Linked DNA regions of Homo sapiens: region 2 is linked to region 1. Evidence: promoter capture Hi-C in 16 types of primary human blood cells and fetal thymus (Javierre and others, 2016). All regions are on one chromosome and are shown on one strand. Each heading gives the region's core, a stretch centred on a gene start or on the middle of the fragment in contact. The rest is flanking DNA. Distances are from core to core; before and after follow the strand shown. Region 1 holds the start of GCM1 (glial cells missing transcription factor 1). Region 2 holds the start of GCLC-AS1 (GCLC antisense RNA 1).

Region 1 (7,626 bases), core at 2,057-4,556:
AGATTTTTATAGCAAGTACATACCTGTGGCAGTTTCACATCATTAATATCCCAGCTTAATATCTCTTTGTCTTCAGAATCAAAGTCGTCAGGTTCCATGATAAGGTCAGGCCAGCCAAGGTTTTCACCTATTCGACTCCCCTCAGAAATGCTTGAGAATTTTGTTCTCAAAGGTTCTTGATATAGCTGGATCGGCCCACTCAAGCACCTTGGACCAGGAGATTGTTTTCTAGGGCTAAAAAAATAAGTTATATTAGTATTGGCCATTAAAGAGATTTAAAAAAAAACCCCAATGCTCCTCTGCCAGAAAAACCTGTTTCACTGACATTTTTGCAAGTACCAACATACTAGTAAAAAACAAAACATAGGAGCCATAAGTGATTTTACTTAAAACTTGGCCATCGGGAATTAGAAGCGTGTGATCACTGCTTTCACCCTTGGGTTTGGGCTTGCTTTCTCATTGCAAGATCCAGGTTGTGAAGGCCTTAGCAGAGACAGTTGTCATCTGTAACCAATGGCTAGGACTTTTCCTGCTAGGGCAGGAGGATACTGGCTTGGAGTTGTTTCCATAGAAATGCCTTTATAAATTAGCTAATGTGTGGTTGAAGCTGCAAGAGGGGAACATCACACTGAATTTATCTAGGAAAATACATATATGTTTTATATATATATATATATATATATTTTTTTTTTTTTTTTTTTTTGAGATGGAGTCTCACTTCTTCACCCAGGCTGGAGTGCAATGGAGTGATCTCGGCTTACTGCAACCTCTGCCTCTTGGGTTCAAGCAACTCTCCTGCCTCAGCCTCCCCAGTAGCTGGGATTACAGGCATGTGCCACCACGCACAGCTGATTTTTGTATTTTTAGTAGAGATGGGGTTTCACTCTGCTGGCCAGCCTGGTCTCGAACTCCTGACCTCAAGTGATCTACCCGCCTCGGACTCCCAAAGTGTTGGGATTACAGGCGTGAGCCACCGCACCCGGCCAGAAAAAAAATATATTTGAAAATCCAAATCACTGTAAGGATTAGGTTTGGTCTCTGCAATAAATCCTGTGCGCACGATATATCTTCAAATATTATCAACTAATATGCTTATATCTGATTAATCTGAAACAGGGTTTCTTAAGTTTGGCACTATTGACATTTTGGACCAGATAATTCTTTGTTGTGGGGAGCTTTTTTCATGTTGTAGACTGTTTGGCAGCATCCCTGGTCTCTACCCATTAGGTGCTAGCAGCCTGTAATCCCAATACTTTGGGAGGCCAAGACACATGTATCACTTAAGTCTATGAGTTCAAGACCAGCCTGAGAAACATGCAGAAACCGTGTTTATACAAGAAGTACAAATCACTAGCTGGGCATGGTGGTGCACACCTGTAGTCCCAGCTACTTTGGGAGGCTGAGGTGGAGGATTACCCGAGCCCAGGAGGTTGAGGCTGCAGTGAGCCAAGATTGTGTCACTGCATGCCAGCCTGGGTGACAGAGTGAGACCTTGTCTCAAAAAATAAATAAATGAATGAATGAATAAATAAATAAATGAATGAATAAATAAAAGTTTGTTCAAATGGCATTTCTTCCCTCACGAGAAATAGTGCTCTAATTTCTAACTATAATTGGTTAAAGGAGGTTTACCAAGAAAAAAAGAAAGAAAATTTGAAGTGTTCTACCCTGAGGAAAAAAATGAATAATTTTGCAGATGAAAGCTACTTGTTAGTACGATATGAAGTGAAACATGTTCACATGTATAACATTTCATTTATTGGTACTCTTATAAAAACAAGAGACATAATGATGTTATGTAGAGCTATTTAATAGCGAACTCAAACTATAAGGTAGATTAATAGTCTAAGCTTTGGCGAGACCCATGAACTCTTTTCTTTAGTTTTTATTGTTTTTTTTTTTTTTTTTTTTTTAATGGAGTCTTACTCTTATCACCCAGGCTGGAGTGCAGTGGCGCAATCTCAGCTCACCATAGCCTCCACCTCTGGGGCTCCAGTGATTCTTTTACCTCAGCCTCCCAAGTAGCTGGGATTACAGGCACGCACCACCACACCCAGCTAATTTTTGTATTTTCAGTAGAGATGGGGTTTCACCATGTTGACCAGGCCGGTCTTGAACTCCTTTCCTCAGGTGATCCATACGTCTCTGTCTCCCAAAGTGCTGGGATTACAGGCATGAGCCACTGTGCCCGGCCTGTTCTTTAGTTATTTAGTGTTATATAATCCTAATACTTGTCAATCACTGAACTCTACCAAGGGAAAGTGTATGTATATAAAAGACCGTTGACCTGAACATAAGAATGAAGTTCCTTTTTTCTTTTTTGTGTGTGCTCTAGATGTCCAGAGAAATTTCTCTAGTAACAAACTATAGAAATGATCCCTGAAAGTATAGTCTTTATAAATAAAGTTCTTGACCATTAAATGACAAGCTAATCAGAGTCTCTTCCTGTCTGTTCCACATACCCATACTGAGCTACAACCTAGTGGTTGCAGAGCACGAAGTTTCTGTTCCCCAACTGAATGTTGATTTTCAAGACTAAATCCTCATGGATTTTAAGTAAAATTCTATGTTTAGGAAAGAAACATTGTGTTACTGAAGAAATGATGCCGCAAATTGACTCTAATTCAAAGGACTTAAATAACAGGTATAGAAGATGCAGATACCAAGCAGCAGTTCCGTGTACTTACCCTGAACAGTAACGATATTGTCTCTGATGGTGCAAATTTTGTTATAACTAATTGGAATAGATCTACTTTTTAAAAACCTTGGCAAATAAGATTCATATTTTCAAAAATCAAAAACATTGTTATAAAGCCTAGGCAATATAGACATAATTATTTTGTTTTTAAATTAAGGGAAGAATAATAAAGAAAATTTTATTACAGAACAACTATGTTACATTTTAGATTTTTCTCTCGATATTAACATTTGCTAAGCGAATGAGCATTAATTTAATATTTCCCTAAAAGTTAAGAACAAAACATAGAAAAGAAGAAAAAACCATTTTACAGCCCTTAAGTAAACTCTGTTTTCCTCTTCTAGGATTGAAAAACTACACTTGTCAAGACTCCTTTTTTTAAAGCAACTTGCGCAAAGTATATTCAATTTTCATCATTTCTACAGAAAAATGAACTAGAACAAATGAAACCCTGTAGGAATAGAGTGGTCGTTGCCACATCCCTTACATTTGCCTCTCCACGGGATTTCTGGCTTTCTTACCTTCTAACTTCTTACGGAGAAGCAGACAGCACTGTGTCGTGAAAATCTTACTGCTGGTTCAAGTCCCAGCAGGCTCTGGTCATTTTCTGAGCAGACGCTGTTCCCTATTCCAGGTCAGGGTACACTATGCTAATGAGTTCTGGCAATGGTCCAATCAAAATCTAGATGCTCTAGGCTCTGGATAGGTAAGAGCAGCCTGGGAGTCACTTAACCAGCCTGATTCTTCCCAGAATGCCAGCAATGTGATGAATATTCTATGATGTGTCTCTGAACTTCCCCCTCCCTTTATGTTATGAGGACATTTGAACTAAAATGGACATTGAAAAGAACCTCATAAGGAAGTACAGATGTTTTTCTTCTTGTGATGTTACAGGTTGGGCCCCAGGCAGACGATTCACAGTAGGTCCTAATTCTCCCACTATTTACCCGGCAGGTAATAGTTCTCTCTCATGTGTGCAAGAGAGAGAAGACAGACAGACAGAGATAGAGAGATATTATGGTGAGGAAATTTACTGGAATAGACAGTGGATAGCCAACATCCTCTATACCAGAAATACTGAAATGCTATCTTAACCCTAGCAATAATGTCCCACTAATTCTAAGTGTTCTGATCCCCTAAAAATATACAATTCTTGGCCGGGCGTGGTGGCTCACACCTGTAATCCTAGCACTTTGGGAGGCCGATGTGGGCGGATCACAAGGTTGGGAGTTCAAAACCAGCCTGGCCAAGATGGTGAAACCCCGTCTCTACTAGAAATACAAAAATTAGCCAGGTGTGGTGGCGAGCGCCTGTAATCCCAGCTATTTGGGAGACTGAGGCAGAGAATTGCTTGAACCCGGGAAGCGGAGGTTGCGTGAGCTGAGATTGCGTCACTGCAGTCAAGCCTGGGTGACAGAGCGAGGCTCCATCTCAAAAAAACAAAAACAAAACAAAACAAAACAACAAAAAAAAACGAACAAACAAAAACCAATTATTTCTTCTAGAGATACCCTCAGTGCTATTCTTCCTTTTAGAGACATCCGCAGTACAGCCTAAATCAGTTCAGTTCATATGTTTTGTTCTAGGTAGTCTGCCAGGCCTTGGCAACACAAGAGAGAATGAAAGCCATTAAGAAGTTCATTCTAGTAGAAAAGATGATTAAAGCTACTAAATAAGGCCGATTTAATTTGATGTATAGAATAAAAGTAATATAAATGAGAAGGCTATTAAGCTGGAGGGAGGAGAACCAAAGGAAACCCACCAAAATAATGCTCGATGAGCCTTTTGAAGGACAAATAGATATTTATCAAGGCGTGAAGGACTGGAAGAGGGTGTTTCGGGGAGTGACAATATCCTGGACAACATGACGAGGGATCAGTACCTGTCAGGAAGGTCCAGACTTTCAAGGATGAGGCTTAGGAGGCAGAGATGAGAAGGCGAGAAGGCAAAAGGCTTGGAAAGCCTCATAGTTGCATTCGGCGGCCCCTAATAGATTTCTCATTCGTCTTTCAGTTCATGAACAAATTCCTTTCCTGCCTGAAGTTTAAGACCCTGCTTCATCTTTTTTTTTTTTTGAAACGGAGTTTTGCTCTTGTTGCCCAGGCTGGAGTGTAATTGCACTATCTCGGCTCACCACAACCTCTGCCTCCCGAGTTCAGGCGATTCTCCTGCCTCAGCCTCCTGAGTAGCTGGGATTACAGGCGCACACCACCACGCTCGGCTAATTTTGTATTTTTAGTAGAGATGGGGTTTCTCCATGTTGGTCAGGCTAGTCTTGAATTCCCGAACTCAGGTGATCCACCCGCCTCGGCCTCCCAAAGTGCTGGGATTACAGGCGTTAGCCACCACGCCTGACCAACCCTGCTTGATCTTATTGTACTTTATCTGGCCAGTCTTGGTCTCCTCTCTGTAATCCCTTTGTTGGTCAGGAGGACATTTCTCCATCCATCAGATACATTGTATCAGGACAAAGCCTAAAATTATGCCAGCTGGTGAAAGAGGATGTCTACAGGGTCTAGGTCCAGAATCACAAGCGGAGTAAAGAGTGGATTTAGTGTCGACAGGCAATAAGTCAATCACTGGCACACCTGTTGTGCTTATTCACTTACTTAGGTCTATTCTCTAGTGTATTTTTCACATCCATATATCTGAACCCTGTCTACCCTTCAGGATCCCCAAAATGCCACCTCCTTATGAGAGCTTCCCACACTATTCAAGAACACATGATTCCTCATTTCTGTGATGCTCTTTTGTTTCTTTTTTGAGACAAGGTCTTACTCTGTCACCCAGGCTGGAGCACAGTGGTGTGATTATGGCTCACTATGGTCTCGCTTTCCTGGGCTCAAGTGATCCTCCCGCCTCAGCATCCCAAGTAGCTGGGGCTACAGGTGCTCACCACCACGTCCCGCTAATTTTTGTATTTTTTGTAAAGATGGGACTTCACCATGTTGTCTAGGCTGGTCTTGAATTCCTGGGCTCAAGAAATCGCCTGCCTTGGCCTCCCAAATTGCCGGAACTACAGGTATGAGCCACGGTGCCTGGCCATGTTGAACTCTTAACTGTGAATTATATGCTGTCTTGTATCACTTGGATCTAACAGTGTTTTTAAATTACAAAATAAATTCATGATTTATAAAAAAGTCATATTCTCATCTCCCATAGGTTTCCACTGTTAACATGTCAGGCATGTCCTTTCAAACTTTTGTTTTCCCATATCTTTTTGTTCCCATATAGAACAAAAGATATTATTTTTATTTGCAATCCTATTTTACGTGATATTGCCTTTAGTTGTTTTGTTTTGTTTGTTTGGTTGATTGGTTTTGTTTTGCTTTTTTTGGAGATACGGTTTCCCTGTGTGGTCCAGGGTAGACTCAAACTCCTAGGTTCAAGTCATTCTCCCCACTGAGCCTCCCAAGCAGCTGGGACTCCAGGTGCCCGCCACCACATCAGGCTATTGCTTTTCATTGTTGATGAGTGTTGGTTCTGGCTCCCCAGTGAGGCTGCTAGTTCTTTCACGGCCAAGTTGGGATCTTCTACTTTCCCTCTCCTCATAGAAAGACTTGCTGAGTTTCCAGCAGCAACATCACAGCCATCCTTGTCCCAAGCACCAACCCTACTCGGACACAGGAGGGCGCTGAGAAGCTCTGCCTTCACACTCTGATAGAGGTGTGACATGATGTCCAGACTAGTAAGGGTATTTTTGCTTTCTTGAGGCCAAGGTCCCAACTTATTACCCAAATTCTCCTAATTGTTTTTGTTTTGTTTTGTTTTTTGACACAGGGTCTTGCTCTGTCCCCCAGACTGGAGTGCAGTGGCACAATCTCAGCTCACTGTAGCCTCCTCTTCCCAGGCTCAACCTATCCTCCCACCTCAGCCTCCCAAGTAGCTGGGACCACAGGCACATGCTACCACACTCAGCTAATTTTAAAAACTTTTTGTAGAGACAGGGTCTCACTGTGTTGCCAGGCTGGGCTCGAACTCCTGGGATCCAGTGATCCACTGCCTCAGCCTCCCAAAGTGCTGAGATTATAGGCGTGAGCCACCTTACCTGGCCAAATTCTCCTAATTGGATCTCTGTCATTGTTATTAATAACAATAATCATAGTAGCTTCCCTTGACTGCACATTTACAATGAATCAGGCGCCATGCTTAATCACCTGTCTGTATTATCACTCTTGATCCATACAGCATCCCTATCAGATAGATACTATTTTTATTATGCCTCCTTTGTGGAGAAGGAGATCAAGGCTCAGACAAATAGCTTTACACAGAAATGTAAGTAGCAGAGCTGGGGTAGAACTCAGAGACATGCCTGTTGACCACGGTACTGCATGAAGAGCCCTATGTGTTCAGCATCTGGAGTCTTTGTCTCCACTCCTATAAAATCTGAGTTCTACATCACTCTTTCCACCCTGTGCCTCCTCCCCTAGAGACAGGAATCCTGCCTTAAGCCAGGTGGCTAGAGGCCCTATTACTTGGTAACTGACCTCAACCACTAATGATTGGATTTCTCAGTATCTCTACTTTTGCATTCCCTGACACTCTGAGGCCTGCCTATTGAGATCATTCTGGTTTTTTTTTCATCAATAGTGGTGCTTTAGGCATTTTAAGCAGGATAATTATTTGGGTCAGACTGTCCCATGCACAGAATTCCCAGACGCAAGATGCCAGCAACATCCCAGTCACAATATCAACCATAACCCACACCTTCATATTTCTACATGTTCGGGAACCAGGGAGGGAGCAGTATTGTGCTGCCTTTGGTTTGGGGTGACCATGCCAGACTCTCAGGGCTGACAAGTTTGCCTAGACTATTGCCTGCGGTTTCCAATTCACAGCCTAAAAGATACCTTGTTCTACCTAATGGATGAACTTCTACACTTACAGTTCTATCCTTCTGGTATCTACCCTATCTAGTTTCAGCCATT
Region 2 (7,626 bases), core at 1,906-4,405, 280 kb after region 1:
TACTCAGGAGGCTGAGGCAGGAGAATCACTTGAACCCAGGAGGCGAAGGTTGCAGTGAGCCAAGATTGCGCCACTGCACTCCAGCCTGGTGACAGAAACCCACATAAAAGGAAGGAGGCTGGAATTAAATTTTAAATTAAATTAAATTTTCTTTTACTATAAAAATGTTAATGTGCAGAAAAGTAGAGAAAGTCATGTACTGAACCACCAAGTATACATTACCCAGTAGTTCCAGCATTTATTGAGTGCCTGTGCAAATCATTGTACAAAATATTTGTGAAACACTGTTTTCACTTTATTCTCTCAACAACCTTTTAAAATAAATGTCATCTTACTTAACGATAAGATAAATATTATACCTTATGTATGCAGAACATTGAGACTCAAGTTGGGTAAAAAATTGCTCGAGGTTACGCAACTCATAATTTGTAGAGCTAGAATTTAATTTTATTTATTTGTTTTCTCTCTTTTTTTCTATCCCATTATTACTCATTTTCCTCCCTAGTCCATTATGCTATTATTGCCCAATTACATCTTTATATGTTATAAATCCATCAATAGTTTTATAAGTATTACTTTATGCAGTTGTCTTAAATCAGAAAAATTACAAGCAAACACACATTTATGCTTTTATAAGTCACCTGTGTAGTTACCCTTATTGCTGCTTTTTATTTCTTTGTGAGGATTCGAGTTACTGTTTAGCATCCTTTCATCTCACTTGTAGGGCAGTTCTGCCAGCACAGAGCTAGGATTAGAACCAAGGTCTTCTAACTCCAAGTTAAAGGCTATTTCTACCACATCTCAGGGGCATGAGAGCCTGTGAGTTCCAGGACTATCTTTCCATGAGGAGCTCAATTTCATCATTCTGGATATTGGTCCCGCCAGAATTTCTCATCACTCTTATGAATCCTTTTCACCCTTCATTGCCACAGAAGTTTTAATGAGCAAGCGAGTCGTACTGTTTTCTTGGTTTCTTTTCCGGTATCATATGACTACAGGTGAATGAGATATGGTTAGCAGCAAGCCAGATGTTAAGAAGCAGTGATCTCATTGTTCAATTCCCACCTATAACTAACCTGCACATTGTGCACATGTACCCTAAAACTTAAAGTACAATTAAAAAAAAAAAAGAAGCAGTGAGGCAGGGGAGAGGTGGGAATTGAAACCCACAGTTATGATGTGAGTTCAGGTAGCCAAAGACAAATGGATAATCTAATTATGAATCTAGTTGTGAGAAAAGCAGTATTTGCTAAACTCAGTAGTGAGATTAGGAACTGAGTCATCAGATCAGAGAGAAGGCAGACCAAAGTGAGCCAAATATAAGCAAGTAAAAATCTCTGAGCATTATAATTCAAAGAGATCTGTGTGTTGGATGACTAGGGCTAGTTCCAGAAATGGCGCATAAAAATTAGTTGCCTTTTGTTCAATGCTTGCAGCTGTAGGTGGAAGTGTCAGGGCTACGTGTTCACCTGGTAGAAAGTTCTAAACTGGGCATGATCTAGGAAGGGGAAGGAAGCCTCTAGGATCCTTCCTCTGAGCCATATCCTTCCCAATGTATTAAATCATTATTTATTTAATTTTGAATAATATATGCAGGGCTTCTCAAGAAGAATGGACATCTTGAAGTTCCAGCTATAATTTTAAAAAGAAGAAAACTCCCTATAATTTAAGTGTTTAATCCTATTAGTATATTTCAATTACAGCATGTATGAACTCATTTGGAGAGGACATAAAAAATCTAAGTTTATGGTCTTTATGAGTATGAGACCCATGGTTAATGGGCCTTCTGGTAAAATTCCCTCTCCTCAGCCATACCCTGCAATAGCTCAGATGTCAGGGACCTATTCAAAACGTATTGGTTTTATAAAACTGATACATGCTTATCACAAAAAGGGCTACGGAAGAGTATATAGAAGAAAGTTAAAAAACAAAACCAACAAGCAAAACCCCCACTATCAACTACCCAGAAATAATTGTCATAACATTTGGCAACATCATCCTAGTTCCTAGTGATCTCTCTATGTATGTACCCATATTCACACATAGACATAATTCTACAAAAATGGGACCTACTGTAAATGCTTTTTTTAAAAAACAAAAAGCATTAAATTTGTCTTTACTTGAACTAAACTGGAGAAAAGCTAGTGAAATTGGTAGAATTGCTCAATCTCAGATTAATAAGTTTCTTCACATCAAGCAATTTTATTTTCCTAGAAGATAACTCTAAAATTTCAAAAGATTTTTTTACTTAAAAAAAAAAAACCCAATCACCAAAATGCTTCAATTCAAGCAGTATCTATGGATCTGCCTGCACTGAAGGTAAGCAACATGGCACCATCTTTCTAACCTACCCCTACAACACCATATTTCTGTTAAGTGTATTATTATTTTTTCATTATCAAGATTCATAAATTTACTCTGTCCTGTAGCCATAATTCTCAGCTTTGCTTTTTCTTTAAGCCATTGAATGTGTTTAATGACCAACCTTCCACTTCCGGGTTTTTAATTTTTCACTTAACAATTGGCTTGCTGGGTTTTGTTGTTGGATGGCTTTTTCAAAAATAATTCATGAGCACTAAATTTCATGAATTGCTGCTTATTTTAAAGTTTGTTTCCTGCCTTTATGTTTCAAGCACAATTAGATGGACACAAAGTTACCCTTTCCTTTCCTCAGAACTTTGTAAGCAGAGCTCCATTGTCTTCTGGCATTGAATGCTGCTGCTGAGGTTTTGGAGGTCAGGCTCATCTGCACCTCCCTCACAGCCCTTACACTTAGAGGAGCTTTTCTTTTTCTACATGGATGTCCTTAAAGCTTTTAGTTTATTTCAAGATATGTGTAAGCATTAAATATTCTTTATCAGATTTTCCTGGGAAATTTTTTCTAGTGCTTTGTGTTCTCTTTTTGTTATTAAATCTTTAAGTACATTTTCTTTCACTATTTGCTTTTTAAAATTTAAGAATACCCATTATTTTTATATTAGATCGCCTTTGTCTAGATTCCATATTAGTAGTCATCTGTCTAGTAATTTTCATCTTTTTTCCATTTCATATTTTAATGTTTGCTCAAGGCTGTCTTTTATCAACTCAATGGTTTTTTGTCATACATATTTTACTTTTGATTACTTCTGTGGTCTTTAGCTATGAAAAGACTGATGAGCCTCCTGGACTGGCCTCTCAATACGGTGGATATTATCACCATGGGTTCATAGTTTTTGGCTTTGCTCATTTTTTTTCTTCCTTAGATCAGCCTCCTTGCTCCATTTCTTGAATGAGTCAACTCATCTCTTACCTCTTCAACAGTGGCAGAAAATTTGGATAGATGTTTGTAATCCATTACTGATTTCTTGGAAACTTAAGGAATGGGAGAAGTTGCAAGATAGTAGATGAACTGGGGAAGAGAATTCCAAGAAGGAACAGCATGTGACGGATACCTGGAGTAGAAAAAAAATAGTGGAGCTTTTGAGGCAATGAGAAAAGGATTATGTGGGTCAGGAAGCACAAGCTTGAAAGACAGCAGTGCTAGGTAAAGTGAGGGAGGCCAGATAATATAAAAGGCATTTTAGACTATGAAGTTTGGATTACATCCTTAGAGTACTGGGCTGGGGCAAGGTAGAGGAAGTGGTGGTTACTAAAGAACTTTAAACAAAAAAGGACAAACATTAATGTTTTTTAAAAAAATGATAGCTATGGTTGTAGGGTAGAATGAAGAATAGAAAGTAGAAGATCAGTCAAGAAACCCTTAACACCTACTCACAGATGGTGGTTGGTTAGCAAAGGTGTTAAAAACAGGAGGAAGAAACATAGAACTTTTTTAAATGTAGGAAACTGGATGTATTAAATATATGTTTGCATCCATACCAGTTTGACTTATAATAGAGAAAACATGAAAGGAATTCAAATGTTTATCAATAGGTGAATTTAAACAAATTATGATATTTCCATGCAATGGAATACTACTCAGTCACAAAAGGAATGAACTAATAATATACAAAACATAGATGAATCTGAAAATAATTATGGTAAGTGAAAGAAGAATGAAAAGAAGAGTTTATACTGTAAGATTCTATTTATATAAAATTCTAGAAAATACACACTAAGCTGTCATGATGGAAAGCATATCAGTGGCTAGTTTGGGGAGTAGGGAGAGGTGGGCCAGAGGGATTACAAAGGAGCATTAGGAAACTTTCGGGGATGATGGAGATGTTTATTATCTTGATTATGGTGGTAGTTTTGAATGTATACTTGTGTCAAAGCTTATCAAATAATGTACTACAATTATGTACAGTTTATTTCAGTTATACATGAATAAAGCTGTTTTACTATTAAAATGTAATTTTGAGGTAGTTTAATAGCATTTAGTGAAGAGAACGAGGGATAGGAAGACAAAAAAGATTATTATAAGGTTTCTGGAATGAGATAATTTCTGTGAAGATATTTAAAGCCCTGGCAATGGATGAGACCACCAAGAGTAGGAATGGAAGAAGGTCTAGGACTGAGTGTGGAGGACAGCTGATATTTACAGGCTGTGTGGAGAAGGAGCAGAGGTCTTACTTCTTTGTGGGGTGTGCCATTGTTGATTTATCTCTTATTGAGAGAGATCATGTTTATTGCTAATATTTTTCATTTCTGAGCTGCAACGAATAACCTTATACATTTTGGAAGTGTGTGTACATGTAATCTGTAAGATAAATTTTTAGATGTAGAATTTTCTGGATCAGAGGGTAGGAGTAGTTGTGATTTTGGTAAATAATGCTAAATTCCTCTTCATAGAAGTTGTACCTATTACATTCCCATCAGCAATATGAAAATGCCTCTTTCCCCACAACCTCATCAGCACAGAAGATTATCAAATTTTTGACCTTTCCTAATTTCACAAGTGAAAATTGGTAGCTCAGTATTATTTTAATTTGCATTCTTTAGCTATGAGTGAGATTAAACATGTTTTATTGGTTAAGAGTCATTGGGAGGATTGTTGTACCTTTAAAAAAATTGAGTTATTGATTTTTTTTAACACGTTATACATGCTTTCTTTATATAAGGAAAAGTAGCCCTTTGCTTCCAATATATCTTGCATATATATTTTCCCAGTTTGCTGTTTGTCTTTGAAATTTGTTTATGGTAGCTTCGGCCTTGTAGAAATGGTTGATTTTCGTATTGTCAAATTTATAAATCTTTTTGTTTATGGTTCTTGAGTTTTGTGTCATAGAGAGGTTTTTCCAACTCTCGAAGAATTCTCTCGAGATTTCTTAGAACTGATTTATAATTTCATTATTTACTCTGAAATCTTTGATTCAATTGTATATTTTCCTGGTGCAAGTGGGAGGGGTTAAGACAATTTTAGTTTTATTTTTAGATGGCTACCTGGTTTCCCAAAATCATTTATAAAATAACTGTCTTCTCACCATTGACTGGAAGATTTCACCTTTATCTTTGTTAAGTAAAAGAGAAGGCTTTATAAATGAGGGTTTTAGAATATATTTGAATGCTGACACTTAATCCCAGTGCAACACTGTTGGGAGTTGCGGCCTTTGGGGTATTTAGGTCATAAGGGCTCCACCTTCATGAATGGATTAATGTTGTTATAAAAGCCCTTTATGAAGGAGTTTGGTCCTCTGTCCCTTCTGTCTTCTGCCATGTGAGGACACAGTGTTTCTCTTCTTTGGATGACACAGTGTTCAAAATGCCATTGTGGAAGCCAAGAGCAGCCCTCACCAGATGCTGGTGCCTTGATCTTGGACTTCTCAGCCTTCAGAATGGTAAGAAATAGATTTCTGTTCTTTATAAGTTCTGTTCTTTATAGGTCTGTGCTATTATACTAGCACAAAATGGACTAAGACAATGAACATGTATGCAGATATGTTTAAATTTCATGGTGGAAAGAAAGATGACTTCTATTTTCCTGTTGTAGTAGAGGGTGTTGATGGATACAAGGCAGCAAAGTCCATTTCTGCTATAACAAAACACCATAGACTGATGGCGTAAACAATCAATATTTGTTGCTCACAGTTCAGAAGGCTGGAAGTGCAAGATCAAGCTGTCAGCAGATTTGGTGTCTGGTGAGAACCTGCTTCCTTGTTCATAGACAGCTGTCTGCTTCCTGTGTCTTCACCTGGCAGGAGGGTTAAGGGAACTCGCGGGAGCCTCTTTCATAAGGGCATGAATCTCATTCTTGAGGGCTCCACACTTACGACCTAATCACCCCCTAAAGTCCCCATCTCTTAATTCTATCACCCGGGGGGTCAGGATCTCAGCATTCAAATTTAAGTTGGGGGACACGAACATTCAGATCATGGCATAAACCAACCGTTCTAATTGCATTATTTTCTCTAGAAATGATCGGCTGCCTCTGTGTGGGCAAAGAAAAGGCCTATCTACCTTGGAAACAAAGCTTTGGAAAACTCATTGCTGGTCTAAAGAAACAGACAATTGAGGCCAGGCGCTGTGGCTCATGCCTATGCTCCCAGCACTTTGGGGAGCCGAGGTGAGAGGATCTCTTGAGCCCAGGAGTTCAAGACCAGCTTGGGTAACATAGTGAGACCCCACGTCTACCAAAAAAACATTAATAAATTAGCCAGGCATGGTGGCTTGTGTCTGTGGTCACAGCTACTCAGGAGGCTGAGGTGGGAGGACTGCTTGAGCCTGGGAGGTCGAGGATACTGTGAACCATGATCGCACCACTGTGCTCCACCCTAGTCAACAGAGCAAAGCCCCATTTAAAAAAAAAAAAGGAAAAAGAAAAGAAAAAGAAAAAATGAAATACACAATTGGACAGTAAAAGAGCCTCTAAAGGGGAAGCAAACAAGAGGTTAATAGGGCATTGATGACTAAGAACCCATTTTGCAATATTCTCTGGAGCTGGCCTTGCATTTAGAATGAATGTGAACCTGAAACTCTTCAGGATTCAGGGCAGGGGATGGCATATGATCTATTTGCCTACACTTTGCTTCAGCTGACAGCAGCCGGCAGGTCATGATCCCTGTTTTCTCCCATGATTTGTTGTCTCAGCTGCCAGATGACAGTGCTATTGGGCTGCTCCTAACTATGATCACTCCTTAGCCTGTCCTCGGGTAGCTCTTGCTTCCAGATTTTATTAACCCACACATCCCAGCTGGGTTTCTGGAAACCCCCACCCACCCACCCTGTGAACTGCTGACGTTGCTGATGACTGTGGGCAGTGAGAGCAGCAAGTGGGAAACAATCTTATGAAAGAGAGAAGAATGTGAGTCAGCTGGATAGATGGTATTATGTGAAAGAAAGAAGATGCATTGGGAAAGTAGGATAAGCCTCATTCTTTTAATAAATACTCATCAAAAGCTGATTACAGAATAGTACTGGATTATAAGATTGAAGTTCCTCCTAAGCCTTTCCCATAAAGATAGGAAGCATGATTTCATCTTTCATTTCATCTTTGAAGATATTGGTTACTGGTCTTCATATGAGCTAAGTGCTCATTAAATGGTTGCTGAATGGATTAATAAAGGAGGGACTATTTTAGTGTCTTTGCTTGTGCCATTCTCTCCCTGGAACACTTTCCCTTTTCTAATATAACTCCAGAAATTCCACTTTCGTCTGAAGGCTCCCCCCTCCTCCATGAAGCCTTATGTGACTAACTTCTGCCTAAAGTTA

What was found. Contacts are between HindIII fragments. The CHiCAGO score rates a contact against its expected background, and 5 or more counts as called.
Region 2: a fragment that was not itself captured here is called in contact with the fragment with the promoter of GCM1 in region 1 in 9 of 17 cell types (total CD8 T cells, non-activated CD4 T cells, total B cells and 6 more); the score reaches 8.5 in total CD8 T cells.

The regions. Positions count from the first base shown.
Region 1 is chr6:53,145,535-53,153,160 of GRCh38, forward strand. GCM1 (glial cells missing transcription factor 1) reads right to left here and starts at 3,307. Exons shown (of 6, transcript NM_003643.4): 1 at 3,220-3,307; 2 at 24-234. The coding sequence starts at 98. It also overlaps the pseudogene LOC124901513. The HindIII fragment of the contact is 12,096 bases long and covers 1,849-7,626 here.
Region 2 is chr6:53,425,884-53,433,509 of GRCh38, forward strand. GCLC-AS1 (GCLC antisense RNA 1) reads left to right here and starts at 5,611. Exons shown (of 5, transcript NR_183318.1): 1 at 5,611-5,756. The HindIII fragment of the contact is 690 bases long and covers 2,811-3,500 here.